2 separate regions of the Homo sapiens genome follow, and region 2 is linked to region 1. Evidence: promoter capture Hi-C in human tissues and cell types (Jung and others, 2019). All regions are on one chromosome and are shown on one strand. Each heading gives the region's core, a stretch centred on a gene start or on the middle of the fragment in contact. The rest is flanking DNA. Distances are from core to core; before and after follow the strand shown. Region 1 holds the start of SLIT2 (slit guidance ligand 2). Region 2 overlaps LOC105374511 (a long non-coding RNA gene).

Region 1 (7,447 bases), core at 4,419-6,918:
TACTTTGAAACCTAATTAAATAAAATGTTATCCTTCTCCTCCAAATTCCATAGTTCTCATTAGTAGACATGTCTGACCCCAAAATTATAAACAATTGTTATGTTTTTAATTACTTCAGTAAGACACTTGTGGAAATGTGTTTTCTCTCTTTAATAGATTATGCATGTACATAATGGTCTTGATTTTTTTGACTATTGGCCTATGAAGCCTAAAGTGCTTACTTACTAGCTGGTTCTTGACAGAAGAAGTTTTCCACTTCTTGTACTAAGATACTAATGAGACTCTTTGTATGAGAAAATGGCTTTTTGGCCATCAGGGAGGCATTTACTTTGAACTATATTTTTCCAATAGTGGTTATGAACTGCCTCTGTTAATCAGAGTTGATTTTTATCTACAATATATAATATTTAGCTTTGGGATTTGAAAATATTTATTTTGAGTTTCTATTAGACTAGAGTACCTTTCTGTGTAATTTTAGCTTGATACTATGACCTTATAGGACGAAGGTCAACCTTTTGCAATCTAGCAGAAGAAGCCTGCAGGAGGTGTGAGAGGTTCCTTTCCTTTCCTTCCAAGTAACCCAGAAAGATTTTTCTTTTCTTCTGTGAAAATCCAGGATGCACATTATTAGACTTCGTAGAGTCAAAAGATTAGGACATTCAAAATCATTTACAACTGTATTTCCTTCTCCTCAATGGTTAAAGGAAATCGACAATTTAAAAATTTGAAACTCATAAAACTATTAAAATTTTTACCGTGTATTTTTGTTTGTGTGTTTTGATATTAATGTATTTTTAACCTGCATCGAGTATTAACTATCTTTTGCTTTACTTTTCCCACTATCATTTTTCTATTATCAGCATATTCTCTTTTGTTCTTGCTGGAGTATCTCACACATTTAATATTCAAATGTCACTTTAAACCACTGCACTCTTTCCTCCCCCAATACATCTTTGTCTTCATTTTATATAGAACAAGTCTTTGCTTGGTGTACTCAAATCATAGAATTTGAAAGGTAGGGTATTACAATGTTTGTGAAACAGAGTTTGGGATTGAATTGGAATTCTAGTGCCTACTTTGCTGCTTGCTAGCTGCATGAACTGAATGAATTCCTGTAAACCTCAATTTTCTTCACTATAAATCAAGGATAAAAATAGTATCCAAGTCAGAGGATTGCTGTGAAAATTAAAGAAGCTAAGATATATAAGGTGACCAGCCCAGTGTTTGGAACACAGACACTGCTTAATAAATATATTATTACTAATAACAGAAGGATGGATTTATGGTTCAACTGGTCTAATCCCAACAATGTATAAAGGAGGAAACTAAGGCGAGAGCTAAGCCGCATATCCAAAGCTACCCAAGCACTCCCACTTATCAGCAGATCAAGGTTTAGAACTTCTCCCTTTAATTTCACTGCATAATCAACAAGCAGTTATTCTGGCAGCGGGAAACCAACTTTACCTCTTCAAAGATTAGTTTATATTATGTGACACACATAGCACAAAACTAATTATATCTATCGCCACTCTTTTGTTCATGGGATACTGTAGGTCTGAGCAGGGCTTGATTATTGTAAGTTGATTTGTTCTTCTTGTAAAGTATCACCCTCAGCCCAGCCCTTCCCAGGACTCAATACAAGAAGTTATTGGATCATAGTAATAACTAAAGGAATATGTTATCTATTCTCATAATACAAATATAATATTTTAGAAAATTTCAGATATTAAAAGTAATAATGAAATACCCTTTATTTAATAAGCACCTAGCTCTATGCCAGGCCCTGTGCTGTTAGATTGAAAAATAATATCTTAATTTTCACAATAATCATGAGAAATAGGAATCAATGCATCCATACAAAAGTGGTATTAAACTGGAAAAAATCCCTATAAATATAACAGATTTTTTTAAAGGGTTGAGGCATATTCGGGCAGGTTGCTGATGTAATAACTAGGAAGCCCTTTCCACTTCTGAAGGCCATTTCCTTGGAAAATAAAACTAAAGTCTTATTGCCTCTGCGGAGCTGTACATCAAAATATTTTGGTGCCCCCTAGAGGTAATCAGTAATGTGCAATTGTCAACCCCCAGGAATGAGAAGCTGAAGACAATTCAGCAGCTGTTATCTATTATTCTTTGCTGCTTCATTCTCCGTACCAATGTGTCACAGATACAAACACAGAGCAGCTCTTGAGTAATGGATCTCAAATTTTAGTGAACATCAAAATCTCTTGGAGGGCTTGTGAGAACACAGCCTTCTGGCTTCTGTTCCCAGATTTTCTGATTTTGTGGGTTTGAGTTAGGGCCTGAGAAGTTGTATCTCCAACTACAGTCCTGGCGATTACGATGCTGTTGGTCCAGGGACCACATGCTGAGAACCACTCACCTAGAGAATCATCTCAAAGTCAAAGCTATGTCCAGAAGCAGGTCAGGTTTCAGTATCCTTGAAGTGCTGGTGCTGAGGACTCTAGCTCTTTACTGCTCCCTGTAGATGCCCTTAAGGAGTGTGTGCAGAGACATGACCATCTCCTGTATGAGGGTGATCATTCCTGAGGATCTATAGATTCCTTGATCCCCACGAGTTCCAGTGGATCTACAGATAAACAGTTGGGTGAAGAAGAATCAATTGAGAATTGAGGTCAGAGAACTTAGGTTCTGGTTCTAGCTCTGCCATTTAATAAGCTGCGACTTGCATGAAGACCAACATCCTCTACTGTAAGGAGTGAAATAGCAACCATCACTGTGGATGTAACTCTGTCAAATAGCTTGGAATTTAGTAGGCTTGAAACAAATTTTGGTTAAATCTTAATTTCCATTATATTAGGGTTCCATGTCTACGTTTCCAATACAAAGATATTGTGAGAAATATCAGATAATTTAAATGAAAGAAATATCAAATAATTAAAATGAACACATTGCAACAATGGAAAATAGTAACATGAAGGCAGTTAAATTCAAGGAATTAAGTTTCATGAATTTGATCAATGCAATTACTGTTACCTACCTCTGTTTAAAAAGACAGAGAACAATAATTTTTACTCTTCTTTATCTCTTTTTCGTAAATTCTCTTTTCTTCCTCCCTTTTCCCATATAACCCAACTTCACAACCTTTTTATTTCAAAAAAATGCAAAGTTTATTAGACATTTAATAACCTACACATTATTCTGATGCTTTTTATTTCTTTGCTGCATAGGTGATTGTCTACATTGTTTCCAAATTATTGTACGAACTGGATTTTTTTTTTTTTTTTGCAAGATAATAGGAGACTCGGATATTGGCTATAGTGGATTCCACTTCTGCTTAATCCAGGTCAGGATTTATGGAGACCTCATGTGGTGACAAGAGGCACCACAGAAGGCTTTCTTCAGGCTGGGTTTAACAGTGAAAGAGAAACTCAGAAATTCATATGGGAGCAAAATAATCCATAAAGAATTAAGACCTAGAAGTTAATGTTTCTGAAGCCTGCAAGGCCTTCAACAAACATCCTGCAGTAATACTAATGGAATAATACAGTAATATGTTAAAGGACAGGAGACCTGGTTGTTTATGTATGTATAAAATTCCCCTTATCAACTAAAAAGTTAATAACGCAAAAAATAGTAAGATATGCCTCTCAAGAATTAATTACAGTCTTTCTTTTTTCTGAATGAAATCCACTGAACATAGCTTCTTATTTAAATTGGCTTCAAATTTTAAAAAGATGTTTCTGTAGGCATGTTGCTATGTATGTTAGTTTCTCCTTGGTTTTACACAAAACAGAAAGTGATCAGAGATAGAATGAAACTTGAACTTATGTCTGTGAATTTCACTTATGCAACAATATCAATAATATTATTTATAAATATTTGGAATGCAGGATATGTTCTTGGAATTAAAATATGGAACAACAATTCTATGTGGTGCACAAAGTTGAACACAAACACCTCTTGTTGCTGACAAGATATTAAAGTTGTGAAATTAAATAAATTAATGTATCAGCAACCATATTTAACCACATAATTTACTGGTACACACTAAGGAAAATTCACTGAGGGTTGGGGGAGCTCCTTCCTCAATGACAGGTACTTGTTCTTTATCTCATTTTCCTTACAAGAAAATGTGACAAGGGCTTCTTTTTTCTCCTCCTCAAGGAAGTTACATAACAGACCTTTAAGCTAAAATCTAGAAGGACAAATGAGTTAATAAATGTCAAATGTTTTTGAAGGTTTTAAAAGAATAGAGCAATATAAATCTGTGGCATTAAAATGAGTAATCCTAAGAGTTCCAATTCAGTTATCAGATGGTACCCTGCCTTTGGGCGTGTCCTCGAAAAGGCTTACGTTTTCCAAGGCAGGCAAAATGAGGTAAGTAGGGGTAGCCATTATGAAAGGACATCTTAGAAAATGTTAACCAGGAAAAACGTTAATGAGGATATTGCAGAGATTTTAGGTTGAGCATACTCTTGAGTTAAAGAAATCGGTTACTTATGAGGAAACCTATTATGTGGCAGGCATAGATGCTGGAAATACAAAGAGTTGGACAGGTCTTGCTTTCAAGGAAGCTTCTAATAATTATACAAATAACTACTACAATATGAGGCTGGTATTAGGCGGGGGCTTGCACAAATTCCAGGGAAAGCTTCTTAACGTGGAAATGGGAGGAAGAACAACAATATGATGCATATTAAATCCAAGAGAAGGAGCAGAGTCATTTAGATGTCATTTCAAACTTACAGTGACATTGGCTCTTGCTGGGGGGGAAAGGGGGGCGAGAGAGGCAGCCGTTGCCAGACATACGTCACACTAAAGAGACAAGATGAAACAAGGAAATTCTCTTTCAAAACATAGCGGGGAAAAAAATATCCAGAACTGCCCTGAAATAAAGAAAACCTTCTGGTATAATGTGCGTTGCTAGGGATTTATTTTTTCCCCTCCTTTCTCTCATAAGAGAGTAAAAAATCACACAGATACGTTCAAGCCCTTAAGAGTTTTGTGAGCCTATTGAATATCCAAGACATCAACTGACCACGGTGTGGTTCAGTGTGTGTCTACAAAGGAAGGGTTAAACGGAAGGGGGTGGCTTGGAGATAGAAAGGCAAGCAAGAAGGTTGGAAAATGCTGTTTTCCAACTTGCAAAAACTGAACTTTTCAGCTCCCCAAAATACACGTGTGTGTCTGTAAGCGCAGGCAGATCTATTTCGGTAGGATTTTTCTTAAATTTAAATCATAATTTCTCTGTTTCTGTCTCTCTGTCTCTTGCTGCGCTGCAAAGAGTGAGCAGCCCCCTTAAGGATCGCGTGGCAAAAGCTGCAGGAGAGGCACTGGCAGGGCTGTTTATTTATGAGCCGCGTTCAAAGCCGACCTCTTCCCATTCTCCCACTGCAAACGACTATCTCCGAGCCCAGGTCACCTCTGGGGCCAAGGAGTTGGGGGCTGGGGCTCGGGTGGCTCCTTCTTCGGGCCAAGTTTGCCCGCGCGTGGGAGCGAGGGGGCGAGCCAGGGCGCACGGGAACGCGCGCCGCCAGCCGCCGCCTCCGCCCAGCGCTGGCAGCCCCGGCCTCACCTCTCCCCTCTCCCCAGCGAGGTGCGGGCTCCCAGAGCGGAGCCAGGGGGCGGGCCTGGGCCTCGAGGGGCGGGGTCAGGGGGCGGAGGCTCGGGCGGCTATATAAGGCCCGCGCCGGCTCAACTTCGGACTTGGTGTTATTTATTTGGGAAGCGCCCGGACGGCGGAGCTTGGCGGCGGCGGTGGTGGTGGCTGCCGCAGACTGTGGTTAAAAAAAAGAAGGCGGCGGCGGCGGCGGCGGCGGAGGCGGAGGCAGCTGCGAGGCATGGGAGCGCCGAAGCGCCCAGGCGCAGGCCGAAGCTGCCGCGCTTTCTGGGCACGGCGGGAGTGCTGAGCAGAAAGGGGAGCGCCGGGGGCCCGCAGCCGGCTCCGGAGGCGCGGGCCGGGTTTTTGTTTGGCTACGCTGAGCGCCAGTCAGCCCCAGCGAACAACTCCAGTTACGACAACAACCCACCTTCCTTCCAGACAAGCGAGACTTGGGCTGCTGCGTCCGTCCTATTGTTTAGACACTTGCCAGGGGCTCCGGAGTCGGCAGAGCCACCGAGTCCCCGCTCTGAGTCGTCGCCCTCCCTCTCCCCGACCTCGCTCCCTGGAGCGGGAGGCCAGGAAAGCAGCGGGAGAGGGGAAGGGGCTAGAAGGAGAAGGACTACCCGGGACTGCGGCCGCCGCGTCAGGTGCAGCGCCAGGAGCCGGGCGGCGTCGCCACGCCGGCAGGGGTACCGCCACTGTGGCCTTGGGGGACGGAATTCAAAGCCTGGGAAAAGTTGCTGCACTTTGAGAAGGACGAACCACTAGTGGGAGACCGCCGGGGGCCGGCCGTGGCTCTGCGCCCTCCGGAACCCGGCTCTTGTTTCTTCTACCTTTGCCATCAGGTGTCTGCCGCGGAGCTGCGGCTTATCTGGGAGACGAGCGGGGTTGACACGCGCGCACACACTACTGCCATTCAGCTGCCGCCTGGCTCTGCCTGGAGTAGTGGATCCCACCCGCCCACCTGCCACCGAGCCATTCTCCAGTACGCCCCAGCAGGACGCTGACACCTCCAACCTTGGCCTTTGCCTTTCCACTCCTTCCGGTCTGCCTGGTTTTTAAGTCCGCCCCCAGTCAGTCCCCACTCAGTCTTCGCAGCAGCTCTCATCCTCCACTTGGCCTCTTGGAGTTCCTCGCCGGAGTGCTGACTAGTGGATATTTCTGCCCGGCTGCGGCGGCCCGACTGCCCTTTTGTCTTTTCTGCGTGACCTCGGGGCAGGTCCTGGTGCAGAGCGTCGCCAAGGACGCCGAGCGGGAGGCGGGATTGCCCAGACATCCTTCAGCGAAGTGCATGTGTGTTTGTAAACCATCGTTGGCTGTCGGGAGACCGCGAGGACCGGTCCAGGCTGCGGCGGAGTCGAGGGCGAGGGAGAGGCCGCGTGAGTGAGCAGAGTCCAGAGCCGTGCGCCCCCAGAACTGCGCGTCCGCCCCGTGCACCCCCGCGCGCCATGCCCAGTTGCCCCGCGCGCTCTGCTACGGGCCCGCTGGGCTTCCGCGCCTTCTAGCTTCCGGAGCCCACTTTGATCGGGGCCATAATACCTATTGAGATCCCCTCTTCTGTCTTGTACCTTCGCCACTGGCATCGGATTTGCAGAAGCGTGCGTGGGATCAGAGGACCGCCCTCCCCACAACAACCGGCCCCTGCATCTTAGCAGCCGTTGGAAGCCCCAGCTCTTTTACCGCCAAGTTCATCCTTGGGAGACAGAAGACGCGTGATCTCCTCTCCGCTGCTCTTGGGGTCTCCTTGCAGCCCTGGCCAGGCGGATTCATCCTCAGGACCTAAAGTTGCCCAAGGAGCTCCTGCTCTGCCAGAGGAGGGTGGAGAGGGCGGTGGGAGGCGTGTGCCTGAGTGGGCTCTACTGCCTTGTTCCATATTATTTG
Region 2 (7,447 bases), core at 2,219-4,718, 790 kb before region 1:
TGTTATAAGGCTAATTTTCTATTGCTATTTGCTTAAAGTAATAAAGTTTTAGTTTACCCCTCCCTCCCACTTGAGTGTTCGGCTGTCCTTCTGACACCATCTTGAAACAGGTTTATTCAAAGATAAAAAAGGCAGTACGAACTCTGCAATAATTCACAGAGCCCATTACATAATGTAAAACAACCAGTCAGTGAAAGCAAAACTCTTCATTCGTTACTGAGACTCCTACTTGTGAAGCTGCTGGGGAGGTGACGGGAGGACAACTGGCTGCACCCCTCAAACACTGCTCTGGCAGCCCAGTCCCCACAGCTCCGTTTCTGAGCCCTGGCGTCCACTACTGTCTGGCCTATGGGCAGTACGCTCCTCAGTTTGGTTTCCCTCTCTTCTGCCCACACCTTGGTAATTAGACCTGCATTAATTAGCTTCCACTGTGTTATGCCGAGATAAAAACTACCCCCACATTTTAGTGTCTTTTAACAATAGTTTTTCACTTACATTGTGTGGAAATCACCGGAGGTTGGTGGCAGCTCTGCTCCACCTGTCTCATCTTGAAGAGGATGAGTCCAGACTGAAGATGCAGCCCGTATGTGGAATATGCCACTTCTGAGGCAGACAGGAAGAACCTGAGAGCTGCCAGAAACAAGCAGCCCTCTTAAAGCTTTCATTCGCACTTTGGGAGGCCGAGGCGGGCGGGTCACGAGGTCAGGACATCAAGACCATCCTGGCTAACATGGTGAAACCCCGTCTCTACTAACAATACAAAAAAACAAAAACAAACAAAAAAAAATTAGCCGGGCATGATGGCAGGCGCCTGTGGTCCCGCGTACTCGGGAGGCTGAGGCAGGAGAATGGCGTGAACCCGGGAGGCGGAGCTTGCAGTGAGCCGAGATCGCGCCACTGCACTCCAGCCTGGGACACAGAGCGAGACTCCGTCTGGAAAAAAAAAAAAAAAAAAAAAAGCTTTCATTCAGCTCTGACATCTCCTGTCCCATGTCATGAGTGTGTCAGGGTGTAGTGCAAGCTGCCAAACGTGCTTCTCCCAAAAGAAGGCCTCTTGAGGGACAGAACTCTGGGTTGTGGTTGGAGGGTGTGTATCGGTGAGAGGATGGTGGATGTGTAATTCCCTTACAGGAAAGGGGACTGCTGCTCACCGGGAATGGTAATATAATCTGCAGCCTTTTAAAACTTTGCTCAACTTTCTTAATCAGAATCACTTGTCTCCTAGCATTCTGACCTTTACATTGTTTAGGGGAGAAAGAAAACAGATACTCCAGTTGAGGAGGGATGATATTCAGTGACAAAACCTTGGCAATAAAAATATTGACAAAATGAACATTCATACAATTTTTAAAATGTAAACAAAATGTTTCAAAAATATGTATTATTGTTTGCTATATTCCCTCTTTAAACTATCATGACTTCTTAAATTATCTTACCAGTACCTACCTATTTACTGCACGCTTTACAGAAGAGGAGTCTTTCTAAGGCTGTGTATACATTTGCCACAGAACCAAATGGGTTTGTTTACTGTTAGTTTTATATATTCCTCTAGGTCATTAATTTTATACAAGATTCAAGAGTATTTATTTGTGTTGGTAAACCGTAATCCATAATTCTCATTTATTTATTTATTGTAGAGACAGAATCTCATTACGTTGCCCAGGCTGGTCTCAGACACCTGGGCTCAGGCAGTCCTCCTGCCTAGGCTTCCCAAAGTGCTGGATTAGACATGAGCCACTGCACCTGGCCCATAATCCATCAATCATTGCACCAATCTACTATACCAGCCCTTTTGGTTATTTCTATTTTTTTTTTACTATTGTAATTTCACTATGCATTTGTCAAATTATTTTCCTTTTTTTTAAAGTCACATCAAGATTTCAAATCTTATCTCTTTTAAATCTCTTGCTAGTTAGCATTAATGGCCATCCAGAAAAAATACCAATTTTTATTTTCTTTAGGGGTCTCTTTCCTTTACATCTTTCATTATATTCCTTTAAAATTATTAATTTTTAAAAAACTTAAAAAAATTTGTGGGTACATAGTAGGTGTATATATTTATGGGTTACCTGAGATATTTTGATACAGGCATGCAATGTGAAATTTGATCTTTGCTAATCTTAAGGTGAATGATCATACTTCTGGCAACTGGTGAATTCAGTGGTGTATAGATATGCTTGATACATGTTTTTTTGTATAAATACATATATACATGCATATATATAACATGTATACGTACATGTATTATACATATATACATGTATATATATGCAAGTATTTTTTATATATCCACATGTTTTAGTTTCAAATAAATATGCTTGCTTTATAATTTTTCTAATATTAATGTATTTTATACAGAATTTAAAAACAAAGTTATTTGATATGATTCTAAAGATCAAAGTTGTATAAATAATCTTTCATAGTTTTGGTACATTATTAAATTTCAAAAAATAAAAATATAATGAATCCAGAATTAATTTTTAAATATGGTATGATTTAGGCACCTAATATTTTTTAAATAAACAGTCACATTTCCATATATCATTTATAAAATAACATTTTTAACTTTTATTAATTTGACTACCACCTTTATTATATAATTTAGTTTTTACACATTAGTGTTTTCTTATATACCCCATTAAGTGCCTATTTCTCTGCTACTACAACATAATTTAAATTTTTGTCACTTTATACCCTGTTTCTGTAACAGGCCGATCTCTCCTTTTTCTCTCTTTTTAAGTTAAAATTTTTTTTTCCATATACGTAAGTCCATATGAACTTAATTTAAAAACAATGTAAAACAAAATGTTTTTTAATTTTGTTAAATATATACATTATTTTGAAAAAATGCCACTTTTAGTATATTGTCTTCCTGTGCAAGAACATTATCTCTCCATTTACTTTTCTAATATTTATATTGATTAAAGTGTTGTATTTCTCATATTTCTCAAAATTAAAAACATTTCTTGGTTTTTAATTTTTGCCCATTTTCATTATATATCAGATATTTTCAACATAATGTTAGAAAATTATCAATTTAAAACAATAAAATATATTATTGAAAATTTTCTGAATTCTGCCATTGTTTTACAGATATTACTCTTAGTCAAAAATTTTATCCACTGCAGAAAATTATGATTTGAACTCCTCCATTCTGATCAATGATGCTATTGTTGCCTTTGCAATAGCAATGCCAACTCACTTCAGTTACAGTGGTGATTGTAGTATTCTTTCTATTCTTTTATTGTATTTAATTAATATCCTAGTGATTTACCATTAAGTATCATTCTGATCCTTAATTTAAGATTTTTTTTCTTTAATAATATGAAGGAACTATATGTCTTTATTGGACCGTAAGTTTATTTTATTAAAAAGTAATTTTATTAAAGCATTTGAATTTATCAAAACTATTACATATTCATTTTATTTTCCTTCTACATAGAACATGATTCACACTTTTGAATATTAATTTGCAAGTTCAATTCAAAATAGTGTTCTTCCATTGTATCATTTATTATCATTTCCTTTCCACTTGTTTTTTCTCTTTCTTTGCACTGGCATTTCTCTTTATCTGGGAATAAAGATCTCTTTTCCTATACTGGACAAGTCTGGAAACCAAGATAAACTAGACACATTTGAATGCAAAGATCCCATTGCTAGCAAGTAGCATTCCCATTTGACATTTGGCTTGAAGTCTGGTAAAGAGGACGGGTAGGATAAATATGTAGTGAGAAAAAATAATCATATTTTTACCCCTACATCATTACTTGTGCCCATATTGCAGATATTATATAGAGAACAAATGTTTGTTCTTCCATAGCATGTTAATTCCTAAGAGAGTTGGAAACCAAATGAATAATACACTCACTATTTATTTATTTATTTATTTATTTATTTATTTCTGAGATGAGGTCTGGCTCTGTTGCCTAGGCTCAAGTACAGTGGTGCAATCACATTTCACTGCAGTTGAGCCTCAAACTCTCAGACTCAAAGGATCTTCCTGCCTCCACCTCCCACGTAGCTGGGACTAGCGCATTTGTCTAGCACATTAAAGGTGGTTCCTTGTAGAGATAATGTACAATCATATTTTTTTTACTATTTATCTACCTCATTATGTAATCTACAAATAGAAACCATGAAAACCTGTGTATATATACTATATGTCCTTAAATGTACATATGTATGCACCACCATGCCTGGCTTATGTTTTAAAATTTTTTGTAGAGATGAGGTCTCACTGTGTTGCCCAGGTTGATTTTGAACTCCTGGGCTCAAGCAATCCTCCCACTTTGGACCCTCAAAATGCTAGGATTACAGGCATAAGCCACTCATGTTTGTAATAACAGAGTTCAATTGCCTCATCAGGAGATATTTCTGAATTTTCTTCATTCATTAGAACTAGAAGATCTGAATTCTCATGTGGTCATTTTTGTGTCATGTGCTTTCAAAACAAATGGAAGGTATTTCTACTCATTTGGAATGTGTCAATTTGGGAACAATTGTAAATATATATGTAATAGAACTACTTTATTGAGAATGAAAGGAGTGCAATTGAGCATGTGGATTGTAATTTTACCCTCAGCCTATCTCTCACAATATCACTGGAACACCCAACCCTCTTTATTGCCTTTTCCTACACCTTATTCTCTTCACTTGAAACTCTATTTTTTCCAAGAGTAAAGCTATGTTATCATCAGATTAAACAAGGCTCTGGCAGCTACTCTTCACTGTTACTCTTCACCTAGACTGCCTAGCGATTTTCTCTTTTGCTGTTGAATAGCTTCAGAATGTGGCTCTTGCTCCCTACTCTATTCACAGTTGCCACTGGTCCTCTCACTCTTCCTACCATAATTCATGGCCTGGAATGGAGGTTTCTCTTCCATCAGTGACTTGATAGAGAAAGAGAAGAGAAGAGAAATGAGCTTCTTGCTCATTCCCCAAAGGACATGCTGAAACTTCTTGTGCTTTATGGGCTTTACTTTCATGAATGTTAAGATGTTTTCTTTTTGGGCATTGTCAGAGAACAATGAAAGGATAGCTTACAATCAAAAGTCTTTTTTTAATAATAGCAAATAGGTTTTCCAGGAACATCTTAGTCATAGTGTCAGTATCTGCCATATGGAAATATTTTTATGAGTATCTGCCATACTCATCTGCTGTCTCTGAATATCTGCTATAAGTACTCCTGCCTTTCCTTTGTTTCAGAATCTTAATTTTTATATATTAGTCCCAGTTTTCTTCCAGTATTTTTTTATAGTAGGCCTAGGTTTTCATGCAGTAGAAGACACATTGGTCTACCAGGATATTCTACTATTCCCAAAGTAGACTTACTAATTAAGTTCCATGGTCTTAAAAGATATTTTACTTTGTGGTTATCTGCCTTTTCTGTTTAAGGGAACATATCTGATGTTGAAGCCATTTTTTGCCTTAGTTTAGCCTATCCTAAAGGTTACATATACATCCACTGATAAATTAGCGAGACCAACAAATATTAATGTGGGATGTAGCTGCCAGAGCCTTGTTTAATCTGGTGATAACATGGCTTTACTCTTGGAAAACATAGAGTTTAAATAACACTTTTATAGAAATGATCTCATTTTATCTTTACAAGAGGACAACAAATTGTACTTCATTTTATGGGGGAAAATCTTAGTAAGGCTGAGAGAAACTAAACCACTTGCCCATAGTTAGCCTGCCAAGAGAGTGAAACAACTAGGGTTTCCCCTCAGGATTTTTGTCCCTCATTACTAAATAATTAAATTTCCAAACTGGACTTTTGGACACAAGACATTGCCTTGAAGGGCTCATCTATTTCTTATTTGAAACTAGATATAGTTTTGAAATCAACTCATCCTTCCCCTCTCAAACTAGTTTCTTCTCTTACATTATCGATATTCTCCTAGAAATCTGGGGGCCTTTTGTCAGCCATTAACCCTTCCCCTCATGTACACATATACATACGTGTCAAGTCCTAGTGACTTTCCTCCTAAATGTTTTTTGAACTTTTCTCCTTACACAATGCCCCTACTTCCATTTCCTTAGTTCTGAATCTTGAAACTCTTCACAGGAATCACTACACTGTCTTTTCAACTGGTCCTCTTCTCTCCAAAGATTTATTGCCACCAACAGAGCATGATCAAATAGATATGACTCATTGTGTCAAAATAGATATAAGATTCACTATAAACAGATCTTTTTCTACCTAAGCAATGCATCATTTGACACTCCCTGCCTCGTAGTCTATGCTTTAGAAATCCTGATTTACCAATTACCTACATTTTCTGTGGTTCATCTTTCTCTTGTCTCTATCTTTTCTGTATACTTCTCTTTCTGTTGGAGATTTCTTTATCTTCTCCATATGCCTCATTCCTTTTTGTTCATGCATTGCCTTCATCATGCAACTTTCACTAACATCTTCAATTATTGTGCAAAGGATCCCTTCCTGGTGTTGCTATAACACCATAATACAATGTTAATACATTTATTGCTGTACTTTATTAGTTGTTAAGATTTATATTATTTCCAGTGTGTTGGTATAATGTATTTATCTCTTTATTTGATAATTAAATATTTATGTCAGATATCTTGTCTGTTTATATGCTCTCTCTCCTAATTAAACTGTAATCTTTTTAAGGGAATTATTTTCACTGACTCCTTACTTTGTCTAGCATATTAAAGGTGGTACCTTGTAAAGATAATGTACAATCACATATTTATTTACTATTTATCTCATTATGTAATCTACAAATAGAAACCATGAACATCTGTGTATATATACGTATATCCTTAAATGTACATATAAATGGACATACATGTGCACACATACATACATGGGATATATACACAAATATCCATGTGTGTCTACAACATATATGTATGTGTTCTTTTTTTCTCTCCCTCTCCAACTGAAAGGATACATGTTCTTTGAATTTAAAGTTTGGAATATAAAGACTTGAAGAAATATTTTACACAAAATTAAACATCTGATTCTAAAATCCAAACCCTACTCTAAGGAGTATGCTTGTGTGGGCCAGTAAAACTGAATGAGTTGGGCATGAGTTGGATGGGAGGATATAGATGGTTTTGCACTAGTTTCTCAGCTATTCCCTGATTAGAATAGTGTCTTGGGTTGTGTATTGAGGTCAAGTTGTTGACAAAGGTGACAATATCATCTTCCCTACAGTGTTATATAAAATATAAAACTGTTAGTGTAAGTGAATCCAAGAATGTAGAAAGGTCAAATCCTTAGAAAAACTCCTGTAATTCACAAAGTCTGTGCATTCTGAGAAGTGAATACAAAAAAAATTGCAATTTGTTTTATATATTGTACGTAATCATTACACACTATGCAAACACATTCATTAAAGGGATTTTAAAGTATAGATTAAATAAGTGATGATTCAAACATATAATATTAAGCAGAAATATTTTGTGGATTGCTAAATAA

The links. Contacts are between HindIII fragments. The study calls those that stand out against the background at their distance.
Region 2: a contact is called between a fragment that was not itself captured here and the fragment with the promoter of SLIT2 in region 1, in 1 of the 25 tissues and cell types used here (lymphoblastoid cells).

What each region holds. Positions count from the first base shown.
Region 1 is chr4:20,246,237-20,253,683 of GRCh38, forward strand. SLIT2 (slit guidance ligand 2) reads left to right here and starts at 5,669. Exons shown (of 37, transcript NM_004787.4): 1 at 5,669-7,447. RefSeq lists an enhancer at 6,785-7,447. The HindIII fragment of the contact is 10,378 bases long and covers 1,623-7,447 here.
Region 2 is chr4:19,456,151-19,463,597 of GRCh38, forward strand. All of the region lies in intron 1 of LOC105374511 (a long non-coding RNA gene), which reads left to right. LINC02438 (long intergenic non-protein coding RNA 2438) reads right to left here and starts at 840. Exons shown (of 3, transcript XR_001741605.2): 1 at 496-840. The HindIII fragment of the contact is 7,394 bases long and covers 1-7,165 here.